Linked DNA regions of Homo sapiens: all the other regions are linked to region 3. Evidence: promoter capture Hi-C in 16 types of primary human blood cells and fetal thymus (Javierre and others, 2016). All regions are on one chromosome and are shown on one strand. The core of a region is centred on a gene start or on the middle of the fragment in contact, and the rest is flanking DNA. Distances in the headings are between cores, read along the strand shown.

Evidence for each region. The method cuts DNA at HindIII sites, captures the fragments that hold promoters and counts their contacts. A CHiCAGO score of 5 or more calls a contact.
Region 1: a fragment that was not itself captured here is called in contact with the fragment with the promoter of HAS3 in region 3 in 1 of 17 cell types (endothelial precursors); the score reaches 6.0 in endothelial precursors.
Region 2: a fragment that was not itself captured here is called in contact with the fragment with the promoter of HAS3 in region 3 in 2 of 17 cell types (endothelial precursors and megakaryocytes); the score reaches 7.2 in endothelial precursors.

What each region holds. Positions count from the first base shown.
Region 1 is chr16:68,951,698-68,954,977 of GRCh38, forward strand. The region is part of intron 14 of TANGO6 (transport and golgi organization 6 homolog); the gene reads left to right. Among named protein-coding and RNA genes, the nearest start is that of TANGO6, 110 kb to the left of the region's middle. The HindIII fragment of the contact is 6,801 bases long and covers 1-3,280 here.
Region 2 is chr16:68,930,426-68,933,653 of GRCh38, forward strand. All of the region lies in intron 14 of TANGO6 (transport and golgi organization 6 homolog), which reads left to right. Among named protein-coding and RNA genes, the nearest start is that of TANGO6, 89 kb to the left of the region's middle. The HindIII fragment of the contact is 4,573 bases long and covers 1-3,228 here.
Region 3 is chr16:69,103,799-69,106,987 of GRCh38, forward strand. HAS3 (hyaluronan synthase 3) reads left to right here and starts at 1,855. Exons shown (of 4, transcript NM_001199280.2): 1 at 1,855-1,989. RefSeq lists an enhancer at 1,520-2,068 and a silencer at 2,202-2,481. The HindIII fragment of the contact is 7,234 bases long and covers 1-3,189 here.

The sequences.
Region 1 (3,280 bases), core at 89-2,588, 150 kb before region 3:
TGCCTTCCCGGTTCACACCATTCTCCTGCCTCAGCCTCCTGAGTAGCTGGGACTACAGGCACCCGCCACCACGCCCAGCTAATTTTTTGTATTTTTAGTAGAGACGAGGTTTCACCGTGTTAGCTAGGATGGTCTCGATCTCCTGACCTTGTGATCCACCCGCCTCGGCCTCCCAAAGTGCTGAGATTACAGGCGTGAGCCACCACACCTGGCCAGCCTCTGCTCTTACGGATGGTAAAATTAAACCATGGAACCATGGATCATGACATTTTCAGTGAAGCAATTAAATACTTCTTAATTTCATGGCTTCTGGGGCTCCTTTAAAGTCCCTCACCTCCTATTCATATAGACTAGCTGTCACAAAGGCAGGATTCATGACCAAGAAGGCAACATGAGATACCTCCAGGTAAAGAGTCAGTTGCTTAAATGTCCACTTTACAAGCTATTAAGGAGGTCTAAGTACCTTCCCTGCAGAACAGCGATTTAAATTTTGCCCTGGAGCCACCCTTTCTCTAGTAAAGTTGGAATTTGAAGGCAAGTTAAGGAGGATGGAGTAGTGAGAGAGCTTGTAAGTAAAACAGCAAGTCCCTCTTCAGACTTCCCCTTAAATACAGCATCCCACACTCTCTAAGTAATCCATGGTTTTTACTGGAGCTTTATTGCAGTATCAGCTAGAGGTGCACCCTGCTTTTGTGTTTCCCTCCCCAACTAAAGAGCAAGCAGCCTATGTCACCCTTCATCTCAAATACAAATTAAAATTCCTAATCTCACCAGATGTGATTAAGATGATACTTGAAGCTGTTCACACACTTAGTAAGCCCAATTATATTTTTTATTAACACTGACATAGTTCCTTTTGTTGGTGAATCATAACTTTACAATTTTTAACTGAATGAAGCATCAATTACCCCCTCTCAGGTCACGTTGAGAACTTGGCAGTGGTGGAAGGTAAACTTAAATGGTGTCTGTACAGTTTGGGCAACACATTTTTAGATTTTTACATTAGGCTTTTGTGCTTCCTGACCTTGTGGTATCTCTCCTGCCCCAGAGGAGGATTGAAGGTTGGGAATGAATTGAGCCTCAGGGAATGAATCACAACCCCTTGAGCTGCCAAAGACCTCATTAGGTCATCTCTCTGTCCACCTGCTGGGACATGATTGCTAAGGTGTTTCTTAGGAGAAAGCTGTTTTAGAATCACTTTTGTACTTTGTGTTCAACTTTTGTTTTCCACTATTGATAACCTTTAAATAGGGACAAAAAGAGAATTGTAAAATATTTTCTTTGGCAATTAGGGTTTTCTTTTTGTTGTTGTTGTTAATGGCTTAAAATGTTCATTCACTCAACAGGTATTTTTTATTATTATTATTATTATTATTATTATTATTATTATTATTTTGTGTGTGTGAGACGGAGTCTTGCTCTGTCTCCCAAGCTGGAGTGCAGTGGCACAATCTTGGCTCACTGCAACCTCTGCCTCCCAGGTTCGAGCGATTCTCCTGCCTCGGCTTCCTGAGTAACTGGGATTACAGGCACGCACCACCACGCCTGGCTAGTTTTTTGTATTTAGCAGAGACAGGGTTTCGCCATGTTGGCCAGGCTGATCTCGAATTCCTGACCTCAGGTGATACACCTGCCTCGGCCTCCCAAAGTGCTGGGATTATAGGCGTGAGCCACTGCACCCGCCTCAACAGATATTTATTGAGCACTGCTATGTTTGAGGGTGCTGTGCAAGGTACAACACTGAGAAAAACAGTCATGTCTTGCCTTCATGGAGTTTACAGTTGGAGAAGAGCAAATGATACAAAATCACACAAATGTAAAACATGGTTTTGACACAGGTGCTCTAAATAAAAGGTACATGGTGTTCTCTCACTAACTCCATCCTCCTTAACTTGCCTTCAGATTCCAACTTTACTAGATAAAGGGTGGCTCCAGGGCAAAATTTAAATAGCCGTTCTGTAGGGAAGATACTTAGACCTCCTTAATAGCTTGTAAAGTAGACATTTAAGCAACTGACTCTACCTGGAGGTATCTCATACTGTCTTCTTGGTCGTGAAACCCGCCTTTGTGACAGCTAGTCTATATGAATAGGAGGAGAAGGACTTGAAATGAGCCCCAGAAACCATGAAATTAAGATGTATTTAATTGCTTCACTAAACATGTTTTAGGGACATTTTCCCTGACAGCAAGGGAACGAGGCAGTAACCCATCAGTGAGGATCTGTGGGTAGTTAGGAATTAACCTAGTAAAGAAGGGAGGAGACCAGGCACAGTGGCTCATGCCTGTAATCCCAGCACTTTCGGAGGCCGAGGTGGGCGGATCACTTGAGGTCAGGAGTTCGAGACCAGCCTGGCCAACATGGTGAAACCTCGTCTCTACTAAAAATACAAAAAAAAAGAAAAGTTAGCTGGGTGTGGTGGTGTGTGCCTGTAATCCCAGCCACTTGGGAGGCTGAGGCAGGAGAATTGCTTCAACCCAGGAAGCAGAGGTTGCAGTGAGCTGAGATCGTGCCACTACACTCCAGCCTGAGCAACAGAGCAAGACTCCATCTCAAAAAAAAAAAAAAAAAAAGGAAGGAGGAAAGAGTGTTGTAGGATGCGAAACAGCAAAGCAGCAGGACTACAGCAGGGAGGAGCAGGAGGCAAGAACTGCATGAACGCCTGTGCCCTCCAGACCCTTAGGATCAGTAAGGAGGGGCATGGGTGAGTGGGTTTGGAGCACCAGGCAACCCACTCTAACCAGATGGCTCTCCTTTTCTCTCTTTCATCAAGCCCTCTCTTAAGATTTCATGGAAAAACAAAGTTCTGCTGCTCAAAAGAAAAAAAAAGTTTTGAGAACTCACTGTCAGGCTATGTACGTGCCTAGCGAGAAAGTTTTATACCACATTTCATGTGTCATGCCACATACACACCCTTCCTCACCTCTTCACCACTGATGGAGAATTCAGTCTCTCCTTAAGCCTACTTTCATAAAATGCAATGAGAATGTTTGGATATCTGTACAAATTTCTGAGCTTGGTTGTCCAACACACAGCCCTTAACCATTATGAAAAACATCCTAATTGCAGATTAAAAAGGTAAAAAACCATATGGCATTATTTTAGGCCAGTGGGTTTTAAGTAATTTTTTAGCGGTGGAATCCATTTTCAAATGAGATCTAACATGAAGGCATCAAAAACTCAGGTGATTTTTATTTTCTTCTTTGTGTCTTTTATATTTTTCATGTTTTCTAATATGAACACGTATTGATTTTATAATAAGAAGAGAATGTTTTTAAAATT
Region 2 (3,228 bases), core at 14-2,513, 170 kb before region 3:
CTAGGACACTTTAAGTCATAATAATAATATTCCTGAAGGGTTTCCAAAGAGTCCCTATAGAGTTTCAGTGTCTCATAATGATGAGGAAGTTTTTATTAATGTTTACATATTCTGTAGATTAAATCGTATTTCCTCTAATTCAAGGAGGTAAAGAATGACTCACACATGAACTCTTATCACATTAACCTTTTATGTTAGTCGGCTACTGTCTTTTTTTTTTTTTTTTTTGAGACAGAGTCTCGCTCTGTCACCCAGGCTGGAGTGCGGTGGTGTGATCTCAGCTCACTGCAACCTCTGCCTCCCGGGTTCAAGTGATTCTCCTGCCTCAGCCTCCCAAGTAGCTGGGATTACAGGTGCCCGCCACCACGCCCAGCTAATTTTTTATATTTTTAGTAGAGACAAGGTTTCACCATGTTAGTCAGGCTGGACTCGAACTCCTGACCTCCAGTGATCCACCCACCTTGGCCTTCCAAAGTGCTGGGATTACAGGCGTGAGCCACCACGCCCAGCCTCAACTACTGTCTATATGCACCTTTGCTCTCTCGTTAAGCTAAAAGAACTCAGGGTATTAAATATTTTCTTATCAAAAAATTTTTTGCAGTAACTTTATTTCTCTTTTTATGGTTCTTTGTTGTTCTCCACATCCCCTTTAACTTGTGGGCTCCAAATCTAGAGAGGATGTAGAGAATAAGGCACCCTTCCCAAAAGGTCCAGAAGCAGACATGGTGAGGTCAGAGTTAACTCAGTTTCCCTTGGCTCCATCAGCGAGGTACAGTCAACAGACCACCTGGGTTGGCCATCCCATTACCATGCGTTGGCAAATTACTTAATCCCTGTGGGCTTCAATTTTTTGTTATCTGTGAAAAGGGGACTAAATAGGAATGTGAAATGGTACTGCCACTTTGGAAACCAGTCTGGCAGTTCCTCGAAAAGATAAACATAGAGTTACTACTTGGCCCAGCAATTCCACTCCCAGGAATATACCCGATAAATGAAAACATATGTCTGCACAAAACCTTGTGTGTGAATGTTCACAGCAGTATTATTCACAATAACCAAGAGGTGGAAATAGCTCAAACAACCATCAGTTGATGAATGGATAAACTAAATGTGGTATATATATGCAATGGAATATTATTGGCTATAAAAATGAAGGACTGATACATGCCACAATATGGACGAACCTTGAAAACATGGTAAGTGAAAGAAACTGGCCACAAAATACTATATTTTATATGATTCCAGTTACATGAAATATCCAGAATAGGCAGTTTTTTAGAGACAGAAAATAGATTAGTGCTTTCCTAGGGCTGGGGTAAAGGAGAGATAGTTGAGGGTGATAGGTAAAGGATACAAGACTTCTTTTTGGGGTGATGAAAATGTTCCCAGATTCTTGCACAGCTCTGTGAGTATGCTAGGAAACCATTGAGTTATGCACTTTTTTTTTAAGATGGAGTCTCACTCTGTCGCCCAGGCTGGAGTGCAGTGGCACAATCTTGGCTCACTGCAACTTCCGCCTCCCGGGTTCAAGCGATTCTTGTGTCTCAGCCTCCTGAGTACAGGCATCAGCCACCACGCCCAGCCGAGTTACGAACTTTAAATGGGTGAGTTGTATGGTATGTGAGTTATAGCTCAATAAAACTATTATCAAAAAAATACAATAAAAAAAATTTTTTTTTTTTGAGACGGAGTTTCACTCTTGTTGCCCAGACTGGAGTGCAATGGCACAATCTCAGCTCACTGCAACCTCCGCCTCCCGGGTTCAAGCGATTCTCCTGCCTCAGCCTCCCGAGTAGCTGGGATTACAGGCATGTGCCACCACACCTGGCTAATTTTGTATTTTTAGTAGAGACGGGGGTTTCTCCATGTTGGTCAGGCTGGTCTCGAACTCCTGACCTTGGGTGATCCACCCGCCTCGGCCTCCCAAAGTCCTAAGATGATAGGCGTGAGCCACCGCACCTGGCCAAAATAAAATTTAATTAAAGGGGAGAGGGCTAAAATTGTCAGAGCATAAGGAAATATGATGACTAAATGTAATGTGATAGATGGGATTCTGAAATAGAAAAACAACATTAGGACCGGGAGCAGTGGCTCATGCCTGTAATCCCAAGCACTTTGGGAGGCCGAAGCAAGCAGATCACTTGAGATCAGGAGTTTGTGACCAGCCTGGCCAACATGGTGAAACCTGATCTCTACAAAAAAACACCAAAAAAAGTTAGCCAGGTGTGGTGGCGGGCACCTGTAATCCCGGCTACTTGGGATGCTGAGACACGAGAATTGCCTGAACCCAGGAGGCCAAGGTTGCAGTGAGCCGAGATTGCACCACTGCACTCCAGCTTGGGCAACAGAGTGAGACTCCGTCTCAGAAAAAAAGAAAAAAAAAGGACATTAGGGGAAAACTAAGGAAATTTGAATAAATTATAAACTTCAGTTGATAATAAAGTGTCAATATTAGTTTACTATTCTATCATAAAATGTTTATTAATAAAAAGGGGGCTTAATATTAGGATTAAATGAGTTAATTCCTTGCAACTGCTTAGCACAGTGTTCAATATGTGTTAGCTATTAATATTTTAGTGTTGTTATCATCATCAGAATCTTCACTATTACGTCTACTGTTGGATGACTAGGTAATAATGTGGTGATCTCTGTAACTTCTCAGATCTGAAGCCTGAGTAGGCCGATTCTGTCAGTTATTGATATTTAACAAACTACTCTGTGGCTCACGCCTATCATCCCAGCACTTTGGGAGGCCGAGGTGGTTGGATCACCTGAAGTCAGGAGTTCAAGACCAGCCTGATCAACATGGTGAAACCCTGTCCCTGCTAAAAATACAAAAATTAGCCAGGCATGGTGGTGTGTGCCTGTAGTCCCGGTTACTTGGGAGGCTGAAGCAGGAGAATTGCTTGAACCCAGGAGATGAGGGTTGCAGTGAGCCGAGATGGCACCACTGCACTCCATCCTGGGCAGCAGAGCAAGACTCCTTCTCAGAAAACAGCAACAACAACAAACTACCCTGACACTCAGTAACCTGAAACACCAATCATTTATTATCACTCACGCATCTGTAGACCCACTGAAGGTTCAGCGGGGCTTGGCTGGGCAGCTGGCCCCTCCCAGCAGGTCTCAGGCCAGCTGTGGTAGCTGTGCTTCATGTGTTCCTGATCATCCCTGAACCAGTGGCCTACCAGGGCTTGTTCTGCTCATGGTGAGAACCATGAAGTGTCA
Region 3 (3,189 bases), core at 605-3,104:
CTGTCTGGTTTACTAACACTTGCTGAGCGCTTACCCTCAGCCAATCTCTTCAAACTTCCTATCAGTCCGCCTAGCAATCCCATCTGTGGGATGAAGACACTGGGGCTTACTGGCAGACTCTAGAGCCCTCCCCTCCACCAACCTAAGGCTTCTTCTCCATCTTTGTGTAAGTAGGAATGGCTCTGGTAGGGCCCCTCAGGCCATCTGAAGTTCAAAACACATTGGCAGCTGGGCTGGATAGCATGCCTATAGGACTAGCTCCTAGGGAGGCTGAGGCGGAAGGGCTGCTGGAGTCCAGGAATTTGTTTTTGAGACAGCGTCTTGTTCTGTTACCCAGGCTGGAGTGTAGTGGTTCGATCATAGCTCACTGTTGCCTTGACCTCCTGGGCTCAAGCAATTCTCCTGCCTCAGCCTCCCTAGTAGCTGGGACTACAGGCACACTCCACCATGCCTGGCTAATGTTTTTTTTTTTTTTCTTTTCTTTTCTTTTTCTTTTTTTTTTTATTTTTATTTTTTGAGATGGAGTCTCACTCTGTCGCCCAGGCTGGAGTACAGTGGCATAATCTTGGCCCACTGCAACCTCTGTCTCCTGGGTTTAAGCGATTCTTCTGCCTCAACCTTCCCAGTGGCTGGGACTACAGGCACGTGCCACCATGCCTGGCTAATTTTTGTATTTTTTAGTAGAGATAGGGTTTCACCATATTAGCCAGGCTGGTCTCTAACTTCTGACCTCGTGATCCGCCCACCTCGGCCTCCCAGAGTGTTGGGATTACAGGCGTGAGCCTGCACCCGGCCCTGGCTAATTTTTTAATTTTAATTTTTGTAGAGACGGGGGAAGTCTCGCTTTGTTGCCCAGGCTGGTCTTGAACTCCTGGCCTCAAGCGATCCTCCATCTTCAGCCTCCCAAAGTGCTGGGACTACAGGTGTGAGCCACTGTGCCTGGCCAATAATGTAAGATGGGATTGTGTGGAGTAGGTGTGCCTGGGGTCTTTGCTTGCCTGCGGGGACTGAGGTGTGAGGTCTGTGGCCCAGACTGAGCAATGGTGGGCAGGCAAGTCCCTGAGCCCCTAAAACTTGCGAGAGGAGAAGTTTATAGACTGCAGCTCAGGTGCCTATAAATTTGTTGCAGCTTGGGAAGAAGTGATAGAAATTATATCAGGTGTATTTGGAAAACAGGTAAACTCTGTTTTTTGGTTTTTTTTTTTTTTTTTTTTTTTTTTTTTTTTGGAGACGGAGTCTCGCTCTGCTGCCCAAGCTGGAGTGCAGTGGTGCGATTTCAGCTCACTGCAACCTCCACCTGCGGGGTTCAAGCGATTCTCCTGCCTCAGCCTCCCGAGTAGCTGGGATTACGGGCATGGTGCCCGTAACGCCGAAAGTGCTGAGATTACAGGCTTGAGCCACGGCGCCCGGCCACTCATTTTTTAAAAACTAGTTATTAATTATAATTTCTCTTCAAGTTTTCCTGAGATGTAAAAACTCATCGCCTTCAGCTGGTTCTAAACTTCTTGTCTCTGCTAACAACTCTCCCCCCTCCTCGATCTCACCCCACCCCAGTGCACCCCAACTCACTTCATCTCACTTTACTCGAGTCTAGCACTATCTTTTAGGGACCTGAAAACTACTGTCGATAAGGTCAGTTGGGAATTTAGGAGGTCATGGATGTCGGAAATAAAGGTGTGAAAAAGAAGAGGAGGAATTGTTTTGGCTTTAAGACACCGGAACCTCCAAGGTTCCTACAAAACCGTTTGCAGCTTTTGCAAACCGCCTTAAAGTCATCAGCGCCCCACTGCGGAATTCAAAGCTAAGCTGTCACAATTGTTAACACCTTCTTTGACCAGCCTTTTTACATTTGACAATTCTCTTCAGCGCCTCTTTCCTGCCAGCAGGAAGGTTTTGCTGCCTTGGCTTTCGGGAGCCCCCTAGACAGCGAACTGCCCCTTCGCGTGCAGAAGTCGGGGAAGAGTGCTCTCAGCTCGCCTTCCTTGCAGGGTGAGTAGGTTTTGCGGGTTAGAGAGCGGGGCGTGGGGGCGGGGAGGGAGAGTAACAATTTTGGAAGTCCCTGCGTGGTATCTGGAAAGTTAACGACGCTTCAGGTTCTAGGTTGAGCCCAATGACCGTCTTGCCTTGGCAGCTGGTCCCAGGGCGATTGCAGAGCCGCGTGGCCTTCGGCCCCACTCGGGGGACCCAGCTTCGGAGAGGGCGCAGGGGCTGCGAGTCTTGCGAGCCGGAGCCGCGTCCACCCGGGACTAGGCGTCCCCGCCGAGCGCTGGCTTGTGGCGCTCCCTGGGACCGCGCGGGGTCGGGGGTGCGCCCGCGGGGGCCCTCCCACTCTGGTCAACTTTCCCGGCCCCAGGGCCGGGGGAGGCGCCTCTCCTGGCGGGCACGCGCCGGGTACTTAAGGGCGGCTCGGCTGGGCAGGCGGCAGTCGGAGCGCGCGGCGGCGCGGAGCGGAGCGGGAGGAGGGGCATGGAGCCGCCGCGGGCCTGCTGAGCTCCGGAGCGCGGCAGCCGGCGGCACGGTGAGCGCGGGCCGGCCGGCACCCAGGAGGGGAGGGCCGCGCGGGGCTGCGCCGAGGCCGGGGCGCGCCGGGTGGCAGGGGTGCCTCTCGCCGAGCCCCCCGCACCCGGCCAGCTCCCAGCCCTGCGGGCGCCGCGTCCGGCGCGGGGAGGCGGGTTGGGGGCGGCGGCAGCCCCGGGCTTCCCGGCGGCCGTTCCTGCAGCCCCCTCCCCACTGACCCCTCCTCCCTTTCTTCCTGCATCCTCTCCTCTTCCAGCCTCGCCTCCCTCCTCCCCGGCGGCTCCTGTTTTGTGAATGAATTAGGAGGCGGACGCCGGTGCGGGGCTCCAGGCTGGCTGGGGTACCCCTCCCCCGCACCTTCTACGACCTCCCGGGGGTTTGCACCTGTCCGGGCACCAAGGTACCAGGCGCCCACGTTCCTGCGGGTTAGCCGGGCCGCGGCAGCACGTGTCCGGGGGAGTGGGCTCCCCTCCCCTGGCCGGCCTGGAGGGGCCCGGAGGGCGGCCGGGCACAAGAGGAGGAGCCCCGTTGGGCGCACAAGTTTCCATGCCGCTGCGTGTGGCCCTGCCGCGGGGCGCACCTGTCAGCGGGAGAGACGCTGCACACCAGCAGCCCCTCAAAGTTTCGGAGGCTTGATGGAGAAGCGTGCGTCCTTGACTGGGGGTTCTCCTT